Regions from separate parts of the Homo sapiens genome. Here regions 1, 2 and 3 are each linked to region 4. The links are contacts of gene promoters, found by promoter capture Hi-C in blood cells and fetal thymus (Javierre and others, 2016). All regions are on one chromosome and are shown on one strand. Each heading gives the region's core, a stretch centred on a gene start or on the middle of the fragment in contact. The rest is flanking DNA. Distances are from core to core; before and after follow the strand shown.

Region 1 (3,171 bases), core at 643-3,142, 650 kb before region 4:
CTAATTTTTAAATTATTTGTAGGGATGAGGTCTCACTACCTGTTGCCCAGGCTGGTCTCAAACTCTTGGACCAAGTAATCCTCCTGCCTCAGCCTCCCAAAGTGCTGGGATGACAGGCGCGCATCACCACACCCAGCCTCCTGCTGGTGTTCATGGCATCTAGAAACACACCCGCCCCTCACCCCAACACTGGCTTGCTTTCACATTTGTTTTAGAAAAGAGGCTAAACAGCATCTCCCCCACTTCGGAAGACAGCCAGTGACCATCACTCCTTGACGAGCAAGATCATAAACACACCCATTGCCCTTAAGTCTGTTTTGTGCTGCTGTTACAGGGACCTAAGACTGGGTAATTTATAAAGAACAATAATTGATTTCTCACATTTCTGGAGGCCAGGAAGTTCAAGATCAAGGTGCTGGCAGGTTTGGTATCTGGTGAGGGCTGCTCTCTGCTTCCAAGAGGGTGCCTTGGTGCCGCATCCTTTGGAGGGAGGAACACTTGTCCTCGCGTGGCAGACAGTGGCAAGGCAGACGGGGGATGAGCTCCCTCTCTAGCCCTCGTATAGGGCACCAACCCCATTCATGAGGGCAGCGCAATCCTGACTCAGTCACCTCCCCAAGGCTTCACCTCCCAATAAGGTTGCCTTGGGGATGAAGTTTCCAAAATGTGAATTTTGGTAGACACATTCAGCCCATATCACCATTCCTAAACATTCCAGCTTCATTTGACCCATGTGCCTAAGCAAGCACTTTTTATTTTTTCAGACAGGGTCTCACTTTGGTGCCCAGGCTGGAGTACAGTGGCACCATCATAGCTCACTGCAGCCTCAACCTCCTGGGCTCAAGTGATCCTCCGGCCTCAGCCACCCAAGTAGCTGGGACTACAGATATATACCGCCACACCCGGCTAATTTAATTTTTTGTAGAGATAGGGTCTCACCATGTTGACTGGGCTGGTCTTGAATGCCTACGCTTAAGTGATCCACCTTGGCCTCCCAAAGTCCTGGGATTACAGGCAACAAGCATTTTTTTTTAAAAGGCAGCATGAACCAGAGCTTCAATAAAGGGAGTTGGTAAACTTTTTTTTTTTTTTCCAAAAGCAAGAAAAGCCCAGGTTGGCCATTTATCCAGCAGAAGCAGAGTATTTGTAAAATAATGGTTCCTCTCAGTACTTGGAAGTGAATTCATGGCAGAGGCGAAGGGCAAACTGCTTCCTCTAGGGGGATTCTGAATACCTGATGCAGAATTCAGCTGGTGTGTGGCTGGGTGCAGTGGCTCACGCCTGTAATCCCAGCACTTTGGGAGGCTGAGGCGGTGGATCATGAGGTCAGGAGTTCCAGACCAGCCTGGCCAACATGGTGAACCTCTGTCTCTACTAAAAATACAAAAATTAGCTGGGTGTGGTGGCAGATGCCTGTAATCCCAGCTACTTGGGAGGCTGAGGCAGGAGAATTGCTTGAACCCAGGAGGCAGAGGTTGCAGTGAGCCGAGATCATGCCACTGCACTCCAGCCTGGGCAATAGGGCAAGACTCTGTCTCAAAAACAAAAAAACACAAACATTTAGTTGGTGTGAAGCTGCAGCTGGAAATAGCTTCATGAACATTTCGAACCTGTGCGGAGCTAGGTATGCGTGCTGCTGCTTTTGGTTGGAGACTTTTGGGAAGCAAACAGGGAAGGGAGAGGAAGCCACTTCCATGTTACCAAAAATTGTGTTACCCACAGCATAGAATTGTAATTTTATGTCAAAATGGAGGCACAGGTAAGATGTCACTAGAGAAAAAGTGTCCTGTGAACTGTGCAGGAAGACAAGCTAATGACAAATTATTAGGCTTTAAAAAGTAGGCAGCTGGGTGCAGTGGCTCATGCTTGTAATCCCAGCACTATGGGAGGCTGAGGTAGGAGGATCGCTTAAGCCCAGGAGGTGGAGACTGCAGTGAGCAGTGATTGCGCCACTGCACTCCAGCCTGGGTAATAAAAAAAATAAATAGGCCAGGTGTGGTGGCGCACACCTGTAATCCAATCACTTTGAGAGGCTAAGGCAGATGGATCATTTGAGGTCAGGAGTTCGAGACCAGCCTGGCTGGCCAATGTGGTGAAACCCTGTCTCTACTAAAAATACAAAAATTAGCCGGGCATGGTGGCATGCACCTGTAATCCCAGCTACTCGGGAGGCTGAGGCAGGAGAATCGCTTGAACCCGGGAGGCAGAGGTTGCAATGAGCCGAGATTGCACCACTGCGCTCCAGCCTGGGCGACAGAGTGAGACTCTGCCTCAAAAATAAAATAAATAAATAAAGAAGTAGGGGAAAATGTGCATAAGTGCCAGAAACAGACCATCCCATGGACCTTTTCTGAGCACAGTGAGCCGGAATAGTGGATTTACTGGTTGTCGTAAAAGGGTAGGAAGGAAAGTTCTAGCACATGCTATGAGACAACAGACAGGGATTAAGAAAATCACGCTTTAATGTCTGGTCCTCGATCACCTTAGCACAGCGCTTCTCTGAGGAGAAATGCCAGCTCTGCCGCATGGCTGCAGGGAATGGTCGGGGGGAAGCCTGCAGCCCAGGCCTGCTACAAGTCTAGTGACTGCAGCCAGGCGGCCTCCCCTGCCGCATAAAGTGCTTGAACAGAGCCGCCGTGCCTCAGAGGACTGGGCCTGTCCTGGAGAGAGCTGGAGACAGGAGGCTTCTGAGCAAAGCCAGCTCCAGCCCTGAAAGCCACAGCAGTGCCACTGCGTCGGGCCAGCGCTCCCCCGACAACCCCAGGTTGCGGGAAAAGCAGAGTTGACCCAGCCAAGAACAGACTGCTGACCTCCTGGGCCGAGTGGGCAAACAGATCCTGCACACAACACACAGGAGCTGCTGGGGAACCCTGAGTGCTTGTGGAGTGGAGACTCAATCAGATTCCAGAAATTTCTCTGGGGTGATGTGGTGGCCATTTCTCCCTCCTCCTCCTCTCTGTTCTTTGATGGGGCTGTGGAGAGCCCAGGTGTGGGGTAGGCCTCACTGGTCCAGCTCACTAGCAAGACCCTGCAAAGAAGGACACAAGCAGATCAAGGTGCCCCTGGGACCCCTTGTGGCAGGCGGGAGGGAGGTGCGCTCCTGGGACTTCACCGCCAGGGGTTCTCAAGTTGGTCCCAGGCCTGGAACCCAACCCTTCCTGTTCCGCAAGG
Region 2 (3,207 bases), core at 663-3,162, 630 kb before region 4:
AGTCCAGGGCTTCTAGGAATTCAGCTGCAGTGTAAGCTTCCATTTAATTCCAGTCTGACACACAAAAGCTTGGGGCAGGAAGACTGATGTACTCATCAAGTACAGTGAGTTGCTTAATTTAGAGACACAGGGTTTCATGCCACTCATTATCATGTGATTATTTCCTCCTCATATGATTGTTAACAGAGTTAGATAGATGAGAATTGCGTGTTCGGTCTTTTTTTGAGGGAGGGTTGCTGTAGGAGGAGACCACAATTTCACTAAGATGAGTTGCATCAAAAAGTTAAGAGATGAGGTTAAAAAAAAAAAGAGCCTTAATGCAGGTCCTGAGTCAGTTTTGATTATAGCAAGACGGACAAAAGCAAAGCATTTACTGCTTTAAAGATTCTCATGACCGAGATAGTGAATGCGTCATAAGGAATCCTACAGAGCTGCGCTGTCCCATAAAAACATAACGCGAGCCACATATTTTTTTTTTTGAGACAGGCTCTCGCTCTGTCGCCCAGGCTGAAGTGCAGTGGCACAATCTTGGCTCACTGCAACCTCCGCCTCCCAGGCTACAGCAATCCTCCCACCTCAGCCTCCCAAGTAGCTGGGTCCACAGGTGTGCGCCACTATGCCAAGCTAATTTTTCGTATTTTTGGTAGAGATGGGGTTTCACTACGTTGCCCAGGCTGGTCTCAAAATTCCTAAGCTCAAGGGATCCACTTGCCTCAGCCTCCCAAAGTATTGGGATTACAGGCGTGAGCTACCACAGGGCAAGACCCTGTAATTTAAAAGTTTCTAGTAGCCATGTCAAAAAGTAAAAAGAAATAGAAAGGGCTGGGCACGGTGGCTCATGCCTGTAATCCCAGCACTTTGGGAGGCCGAGGCAGACAGATTGCTAGAGCTCAGGAGTTCGAGACCAGCCTGGGCAACATGGAAACCTCATGATTGTAGAGATGAGATTTCTCATCTGTACAAACAAACAAACAAAAACACAATAATTAGCCAGTCATGGTGGTGTGCACCTGTAGTCCCATAATTCCAGAGGCTGAGATGGTAGAATCACTTGAGCCTGGGAGGCAGAGGTTGCAGTGCATTGCACTCCAGTCTGGGTGACAAAGCAAGGCGCCGTTTAAAAAGAAAAAAAGAAAAAAGAGACAGGAAAAATTAATTGTAATGATATATTCTGTGTAACCCAATATATCCAAAATATTTTAACATGTCATCAATAAAAAATGTTTTCATGTGATAGTGGTACTCTTTGTTTTTTTGAGACAGTGTCTTGCTCTGTTGCCCAGGCTGGAGGGTGGTGTGATCACAGCTCTCTGTGGCCTCAACCTCCCAGGTTCAAGCAGTCCTTCTGCCTCAACCTCCCAAATAGGTAGGCCTATAGGCGTGTGCCACCATGCCAGGCTAATTTTTGTATTTTTTTGTAGAGGCAAGGTCTCGCTATGTTGCCCAGGTTTGTCTCAAACTCTTGAGCTCAAGCGATCTTCCCACCTCAGCCTCCCAAAGTACTGTGATTTCAGGCATGAGCCACTGTGCCCAGCCTCTTTTTCTGTACTATGTCTTTGAAATCCAGTGTGTATTTTAAGGTTATAGCACATCTCAGTGTAGAGTAGGAACGGTTAAGTGTTCAACAGGTGCAAGTTACTAGTGGCTACCATACAGTGCAACACCACTATGGATATTTTCCGCAGTTGTAATTTTACAGGTACCCTAAGGTAGATGTGCACTGATCCTCCCACTAGCAGCAAACGCCAAAAGCAAAAAGCTGCAGGGGAGCTCCTGCCCCCAAATGCTTCAGGTCCAACCAGGGATGTGAGTTCAGTTAACTGGCTAGCAGTGAGTCTCCAAAAAAAAAAAAAAAATATATATATATATATATATATATATATATATATTTGAGATGGAGTTTTGCTCTTGTTGCCCAGGCTGGAGTGCAGTGGCGCAATCTGGGCTCACTGCAACCTCCGCCTCCTGGATTCAAACGATTCTCCTGCCTCAGCCTCCCATGTAGCCGGGATTACAGGCATTAGCCACTAGGCCTGGCTAATTTTTTGTACTTTTAGTAGAGACGGGGTTTTACCATGTTGGCCAGGCTGGTCTCGAACTCCTGACCTCAGGTGATCCACCCGCCTCGGCCTCCCAAAGTGCTGAGATTATAGGCATGAGCCACCGTGTTCAGAAAAAAAAAAAAAAAAAATTCTTTTTTTTGCACTGCTCCATCAGTACAATTTACCATTTTAAACTTTATTTTTCTCTTAGAGATGGGGTCTCGCTATGTTGTCCAGGCTGGTCTTGTGTCCAGGCTGGTCTTGAGCTCCTGGCCTCAAGCAATCCTCCCACCTTGGCTTCCCAAAGCACTGGGACTACAGGTGTGAGCCAATGAGTCCAAATCTGGGTGTGGGCCAGGTGGTTCTGATGTTGAGTCTGCACCTGGAAAGCCATCCTCTTGAATACTGTCTGTATCTACTGCTGCTGCTGACAGATATTGGAAGCCAAACCTGCTTGGGCTTCCCTTGGGCAGTGTTAAGATTCCAAACCTCACCCCAAAGACGGGGGGATCTGTTACTTTTAAACAATTCCTCAGATGAGTCTTCCATGATCAGGTAAACTTGGGAAACACAGTTCATTGGTTCCGAAACGTTGCTGAACATGAGAATCACCTGGGCAGCCGATCATACTCTGCAGCAATTAAATCAGAAGGTCTGGGGATGCGTCTGGGCGCGGTGGCTCACGCCTGTAATCCCAGCACTCTGGGAGGCTGCGGCGGGTGGATCACCTGAGGCCAGGAGTTCGAGACCAGCCTGGCCAACATGGCGAAACCCTGTCCCTACTAAAAATACAAAAATTAGCCGGGCATGGTGGTGGGTGCCTGTAATCCCAGCTACTCAGGAGGCTGAGGCAGGAGAATCGCTTGAACCAGGGAGGTGGAGGTTGCAGCGAGCCAAGATTGCACCACTGCACTCCAGCCTGGGCGACAGAGGGAGACTCCATCAAAAAAATAAAAAAGGGTCTGGGGATGGGAGCCAAAGATTTCCAGATGGTTCCAATGTGCAGTTTGGAGACCACTGCACTAGGCAATACGTGTCAGCCCAGCAGCTGTAGACACCAGAACACCCCAGGTAAGCCTTTAAAGTGGCCCCAGGTGGCAAGGTAATTATCATCTTCTCTCTCGCGTTGTATTCAATTGTAACAGGTGCCAGCCCCGCGTGGGGG
Region 3 (3,002 bases), core at 380-2,879, 530 kb before region 4:
TAATCTGGTGGCACCCGGGCTCTGGAGTCATATGGACCTGGATTTGAACCCCAGCTCTGCCCCTTCATCTTGGTGTGACCCTGGACAACTTGCTTAGCATCTCTGGGCCTTGATTTCTTCATCTGTAAAGTGAACATTGGTGGCATTTTGCCCATATAGTTGTTGCGAGAATAACCAAGATAAAATGACCCCTTACTATGTGCTATTTACAAATGTTAGCTGTAATTATGCTTTTGCTTTCCAATTTAACTAGCCAGGTAGGTAGGTAAGTAGGGGGAGAGAGAGAGGGAGAGAAGGAGGAAACAGCAAAAATAAAAGCATTTTTTTCTCTGATAATTTGAGGAAAATATACTTGTCTAGACCAGTGGTTCTCAACTAGGGATGACTGTGTGCCCCAGGGACGTTTGGCAATGTCTGGAGACATCTTAGTTGTCACGACTGAGGGAGTGCTACTGGCATCTGCAGCCAGGGGTGCTGCTAATCTATAGGACAACCCCTGTGACAAAGAAATACCTGGTTCCAATGTGCACAGTAGCCAGGCATGGTGGCTCACACCTGTAATCCCAGCACTTTAGGAGGCTGAGACAGGAGGATAGCTTGAGCTCAGGAGTTCAAGACAAGCTTAAGCAATACAGGGAGACCCTATCTCTACAAAAAATACAAAAAAATTAGCCAGGCATGGTGGCGTGTGCCTGTAATCGCAGCTACTTAAGAGGCTGAGGTGGGAGGATTGCTTCAGCCCAGGAGGTTGAGGCTGCAGTGAGCTGTGATTGTGCCACTGTACTCCAGCCTGGGCCACAGAGTGAAACCCTGTCTCAAAAACAGCAACAACAACAACAAAAAACAAAAGTGTCCCCAGTGCCTAGGCTGAGGAATCCTGGTCTATCATACATTGACATCTCTGATATTAAGGGCCACAGTGCAAGGTACAGTGTCTGGCACATAGTAGGTGCTCAATGAATGTTTGACAACCACATGAATGAATGAATCAATCAATCACAGAATGGATGAATCATCGAATGAATGAATGATTATATAGTTCATTTGTCATTTGGCTGAGTGCCTGGGACAGGGCTGCATCCGAGCAGCTGTTCATTAAATAGGTATGGACAGGTTCCTGTAAATGTTCCCTTCTGAAGCAGCTGGGGAGTGAGGTCCTGGCGGGGGAACACCCGGCCTCACAGCTGTGGTTCCAGGTCATGATAAATTGCTGTGGGAAGCCACAGAGCAGACAGCTCATCACACATTGTAATGGATTCATTGTCTTCTCTCGTGGCCCCCTTTATCTCAAACTCTCAGCAGACAAGGGTTAAAAGGGAGTGAGCTGAGTGAGGGCCTGTGGATGCTGCTCTTCAGGAAAAGGAGGGAAAATGAGCCCAGACAGGATCATCGTTAACCGGCTCCAAGGTCAAGAGCCGGGTTAGAACGTTAGAATTAGAGATGGGGGCAGGGATGGCGGCGGGACTCTCTCCATCACCACACCCTATCTAATTCATTTATTCAACAAATATTTATTGAGTACCAGAGACTCTTTGGGCATATGTGAGTTAACAAAACAGATGAAATCCTTACCCTGTTGGAATTTATATTTTAAAGAAGCAGGATGAACAATGGACACATAGGCCGGACATACCATGTGTGAGGGGCCCTGTGCATTAGGAGAAAAATCAGGTAGGGAGGGAAGATAAGGCATGTTTGGGGCTGAGTTTTTCCATTGAGGTGAAATTCAAATAACATGAAATTAATCATTTAAAAGTGAACAATTGGCCAGCGCGGTGGCTCAGGCCTGTGATCCCAGCACTTTGGGAGGCTGAGGCGGGAGGATTGCTTGATCCCAGGAGTTAGAGACCAACCTAGGCAACACGACAAGACTCCATCTCTGTTTTTTTTTAAGTGAACAATTGAGTGGCATTTAGTTCATTCACAGTGTTATGTAACCACTATTTCTGTCTAGTTCCAGAACATTCTCATCACCCCAAAAGGAAACCCCGTACCCATTTGGCCATTCCTCCTCCTCCAGCCCCTGGTAACCGTTGCTTTTCTTTCTCTGTGTGGGTTTGTCTGTTTTTGGATATTTCACATAAATGGCATCATACACTATGTGGCCTTTTGTGACTAGCTCCTTTCACAAGAATCTCACCTTGTTTTCAAGGTTCATTCATGTGGTAGCATGTGCCTTTCATTCTTTTTTATGGCTGAGTAAAATTGAATCACATGGATAGACCACATTTTGTTAATCCATTCGTCTGTTTAGGGACATCTGGGTTGTCTCCATCTTTGGCTACTGTGAATAGTGCTGTTGTGAACATTTAGGTTACAAGTATCTGTTTGAGGCCAGGCATGGTGGCTCACGCCAGCAGTCCTAGCACTTTGGGAGGCCGAGGCGGGTGGATCACTCGAGATCAGGAGTTCGAGACCAGCCTGGCCAACACGGTGAAACCCCATCTCTACTAAAAATAAAAAATAAAAATAAAAATGGTATCTGCTTGAGTCCCCATTTTCAATTCTTTGGGGTAAAAACCTAAAAGTGGAACTGCTGGGTATATGGTAATTCTATGTTTAACTTTTTTAGGAATGGCCAGTTTCCCACAGCAGCAGCACCATTTTACACTCCTATCAGTAATATACAAAGCTTCCAATTTCTTCATCTCCTCACCAATACTTGTTATTTTCCATTTTTAAAATAACAGTCATCCTAGTGATAGGAAGTCGTGTGTCCTGTGGTTTTGATCTGTGTTTCCCTAATACATATCATTACGTGGTGAGCATCTTTTCATGTGCCCATTGGCCGTGTATATATATCTTCTTAGATAGTCCTTTGCTCACTTTTGACGTTGGTCATTTGTCTTTTTGTTACTGAGTTAAAAGCATGGAGCTAACTTATTTTTATTTATTTTTATTTTTTTATGTTTTTTGAGACAGAGTCTCATTCTGTCGCCCAGGCTGGAGTGCAGTGGCGCAATCTCGGCTCACTGCAACCTCCGCCTCCCAGGTTCAAGTGA
Region 4 (3,316 bases), core at 53-2,552:
GCCAGCCTCCTGGCTGCATTTATATAAAGTTTAAGAACAGGCAAAATTAATCTAGCAGGGTAGAAGTGGTAATAGTGGCTGATAGCAGTAAGCAATTTGACTGGAAGAGGGCTCAGGGAACCTTCTGGGATACTGGAAATGCTCTTTATTTTAATCTTGGAGGTGGTTATAGAAGTCTATCCATATGTAAAAATTCATTGAGATGAATACACTTAAGAATATGTACTTTATGTAATACCCCATAAGACATTTTTTTTAAAATACTTAAAAATAAAAGAAAAAACATAATTTAACAGAGGGCATAGTTCTCAAGCTGTTTTCTCTGTCTCAGGACCCCTTTACACACGTTACTGAGGGTGCCCAAGAGCTTTTAGTTTTGTGGGTTATATTTACTATGGACATTAAAGTTGAGAAACGTTTAAAAAACAATACACAATTCCTAGAGCAGTGACGTCATCACGTCAAGCAGCCTCTGGAAAACTTGACTGTTCACTCAGAGAGAATGAAAAAGACAAGTAACATCTTAGCATTATTATGAAAGTAATTTTGACTTCGGGGACTCCCAAATCGAGTGAATTTAGGAAATCTCAGTGGTCCCCAGACGGCACTTTGAGAACCACTGGCGCAGGGAGAAAATGACAGAAGAAAACACACTACACGACAACAGTTATTCTCTCTCAGTGCTGGGATTATAATTTATTTGCTTCTTTGTGCTTTTCTGTCAAAAAAAAAAGGTAAACGGAAATGGAAAATACAATGACCACGTATTGTTTCTGCGAGCAAAAAACGAGACGGCACACTCGCCTCCCTAAGATTGCTGAAAGGCCCAAACAGCAATAGCATATTTAGCTGTATGGAAGAATTAAACTGAGCTCAAACCTGAAAATAAAAGTCCGATTTCCCGTTTGTCAATGCCTGGGCTGTGAGGTGCAGGGTCTTGCCCTCAAAAGCTCCACCGTTCACCTTGGGGAGAGAATATACTCGCATACATAACTGTGGTGCAAGGTTCCCAGGGCCCCAAGGGTAGCGGCTACATCCTACACACTATTGTAAACTTCAGTGTGCAACAGAACCATCCATTACAGCTGCAAGGCGCTCCATCCCGGGGTTCAGCCCTCAAACTAGTCAGTGACCCTCCGCAGGACGCATGCGCGCTTACAAACGCAGTTGGGCGGGGCTTGAGAGAGCTGACAGACTTCGGCCTCTCAACTTTCTAGCTCCGCCCTAATATCCTGTCTCCTTCTCTGAATGGCTGAAAGGCTGCGGAAGCAAGCTTCCCATTGGCAGCGGACAGAATTCACATCCGGTTTGCACGCCGGACCGGAGAGCGCGGAGGCAGCCATGGTGCGGTTCAAGCACAGGTAAGCATTCCCTTCCAGACCCTCCCAGTGCCTTGCTGGGTCCTCGCGGCCCCGCTAGTGTCCACCTTCCTCTCGCCTGCCGCAGGTACCTGCTCTGCGAACTGGTGTCTGACGACCCCCGCTGCCGCCTAAGCCTCGATGACCGAGTTCTGAGCAGCCTCGTACGGGACACGATCGCCAGGGTGCACGGAACTTTCGGCGCAGCCGCCTGCTCCATCGGCTTCGCGGGTGCAAGGGCGCTGGGGGAAGAGGGGAACCCGGGAGGATGGCGGGATGTGGAGGGGGCAGGCGCCGGAGGAAGAAAGAAGGGGCACGAGTGGCCAAGCCCGTGCACCGTTTTTTGTAAGGTATCTCTTTAAGCGCCTGGGACCCCAAGCGAGAGTCCGAAATTAGCAGAGCGCTAAAAGGAGGGGCCCGAAGGCAGTGGGGCTTTGAGCTAGAAGCCTCTTTTTACCTGCTTGACAGGTAATTTCTGTAATTGGTTGTGATTGAATTTGATAGGGTAGAGAATTAAATGAGGGAAGCTGTGTATACTTCCTAGTAAGAGCTATTATATGACCGATTACATTAACATCATATGGAAAAAAATTGTCAAAAGTACTCCGGGAAAGCCCTTAAATAGTTGGTAAAGTACAGAACACATGATTGTCAATATATGTAAATACAGGATGAGCTAGGACAGAGGGGCCCTTCTTTCACACCACTTAAATTAGTTCCCACTTTAACCTTGTTTGAGATTGACTTCTGGAGAGTTAAATGCAGATAGACTTAACTCTCCTAAGTCAGGTGAGACTGAGAGCTGACTGCTACAATAATTACGGAGCCCAAATGCAGTAAAACAGCCTGTTTTTCAGGCAAGGGTTTTGTGGGGGTTTTTCCTAAATTAAAACGGATCGCCTCCTACCTGCTCCTATTTATTGAATTAACTAGTGAATTAGAAAGCATTTTCAATTCTAAATTCATTCACCAGTTCTGAGTGGTGTGCAACACAGTGGGTGTTTTGGCTTTTCTCTTTTACTCGCTGATAGATCTACGTGCCACTTGCCTACAACATACTTTTGGCACATAGTAGGCTCTGTTACTCCAAAGTTTTCCTTTTTTCGAGACAGTCTGGCTGTTGCCCAGGCTGCTGGAGTGCAGCAGCGAGATCGGGGGTCATTGCTGCCTCTGCCTCCTGGGTTCAGGCGATTCTCATGCCTCAGCCTCCTGAGTGGCTGGAATTACAGGTGCGCACCACCACACCCAGCTAATTTTTGTATTTTTAGTAGAGACGGGGTTTCATCATGTTGGCCAGGCTGGCCTCGAACTCCTGACTTAAAGTGATCTGCCCGCCTCAGCCTCCCAAAGTGCTGGGATTACAGGCGTGAGCCACCACACAGAGCAAAAGTTTTCCAAAATGATTTTTCTTTCCTGTTGTAGTTCGATATCTCAATGCCTATACTGGAATAGTGCTACTTCGATGCAGAAAAGAATTCTATCAGCTTGTGTGGTCAGCTCTTCCCTTCATCACATACTTGGAGAACAAAGGACACCGTTACCCATGCTTTTTCAACACATTACATGTGGGAGGTAGGAGTGAGGTGGTATGGCTACTGATTTTCAATTGGTGACACGTTCACAGTTCAGTCTAAACTGGTGGGTGGGTCTTGCTGCTGTCCCGCTAACAAGACACTTCCCCCTACCTCTGAAAGTCTGTAAGGTCGAGATCTTTCACAAGCTGTTGACCACAGTAACTCATATGCCAGGTACAATAAGAACATGTCAGAAGTTCCTAATTCAGTACAACAGGAGACAGCTGTTGATCTTGTTGCAGAACTGCACTGATGAAGGTAAGCAACACTAGCCCAGTGCCCACTGAGCAGTGACTGACCTTAAGCTGAAGAAATCACTCCCAAAGATATCTTTCATCCCTGTTATCTGCCTTCTCCAGGAGAGCGGGAAGCTATCCAGAAGTC

Evidence for each region. Contacts are between HindIII fragments. The CHiCAGO score rates a contact against its expected background, and 5 or more counts as called.
Region 1: a fragment that was not itself captured here is called in contact with the fragment with the promoter of POP5 in region 4 in 2 of 17 cell types (naive B cells and total B cells); the score reaches 5.5 in naive B cells.
Region 2: a fragment that was not itself captured here is called in contact with the fragment with the promoter of POP5 in region 4 in 2 of 17 cell types (total B cells and naive B cells); the score reaches 8.3 in total B cells.
Region 3: a contact is called between a fragment that was not itself captured here and the fragment with the promoter of POP5 in region 4, in 9 of 17 cell types (total B cells, naive B cells, fetal thymus and 6 more). The highest score is 11.7, in total B cells.

Annotation. Positions count from the first base shown.
Region 1 is chr12:121,233,380-121,236,550 of GRCh38, reverse strand. It overlaps P2RX4 (purinergic receptor P2X 4), which reads right to left. Exons shown (of 12, transcript NM_002560.3): 12 at 2,445-3,028. The coding sequence ends at 3,002. Among named protein-coding and RNA genes, the nearest start is that of P2RX4, 25 kb to the right of the region's middle. RefSeq lists an enhancer at 2,182-2,809. The HindIII fragment of the contact is 6,150 bases long and covers 1-3,171 here.
Region 2 is chr12:121,211,474-121,214,680 of GRCh38, reverse strand. All of the region lies in intron 1 of P2RX4 (purinergic receptor P2X 4), which reads right to left. Among named protein-coding and RNA genes, the nearest start is that of P2RX4, 2.9 kb to the right of the region's middle. The HindIII fragment of the contact is 3,683 bases long and covers 71-3,207 here.
Region 3 is chr12:121,112,415-121,115,416 of GRCh38, reverse strand. The region is part of intron 1 of LOC105370030 (a long non-coding RNA gene); the gene reads right to left. Among named protein-coding and RNA genes, the nearest start is that of P2RX7, 19 kb to the left of the region's middle. The HindIII fragment of the contact is 2,011 bases long and covers 624-2,634 here.
Region 4 is chr12:120,579,388-120,582,703 of GRCh38, reverse strand. POP5 (POP5 ribonuclease P/MRP subunit) reads left to right here and starts at 1,302. Exons shown (of 5, transcript NM_015918.4): 1 at 1,302-1,361; 2 at 1,447-1,589; 3 at 2,781-2,930; 4 at 3,107-3,190; 5 at 3,292-3,316. The coding sequence starts at 1,342. The HindIII fragment of the contact is 2,825 bases long and covers 1,276-3,316 here.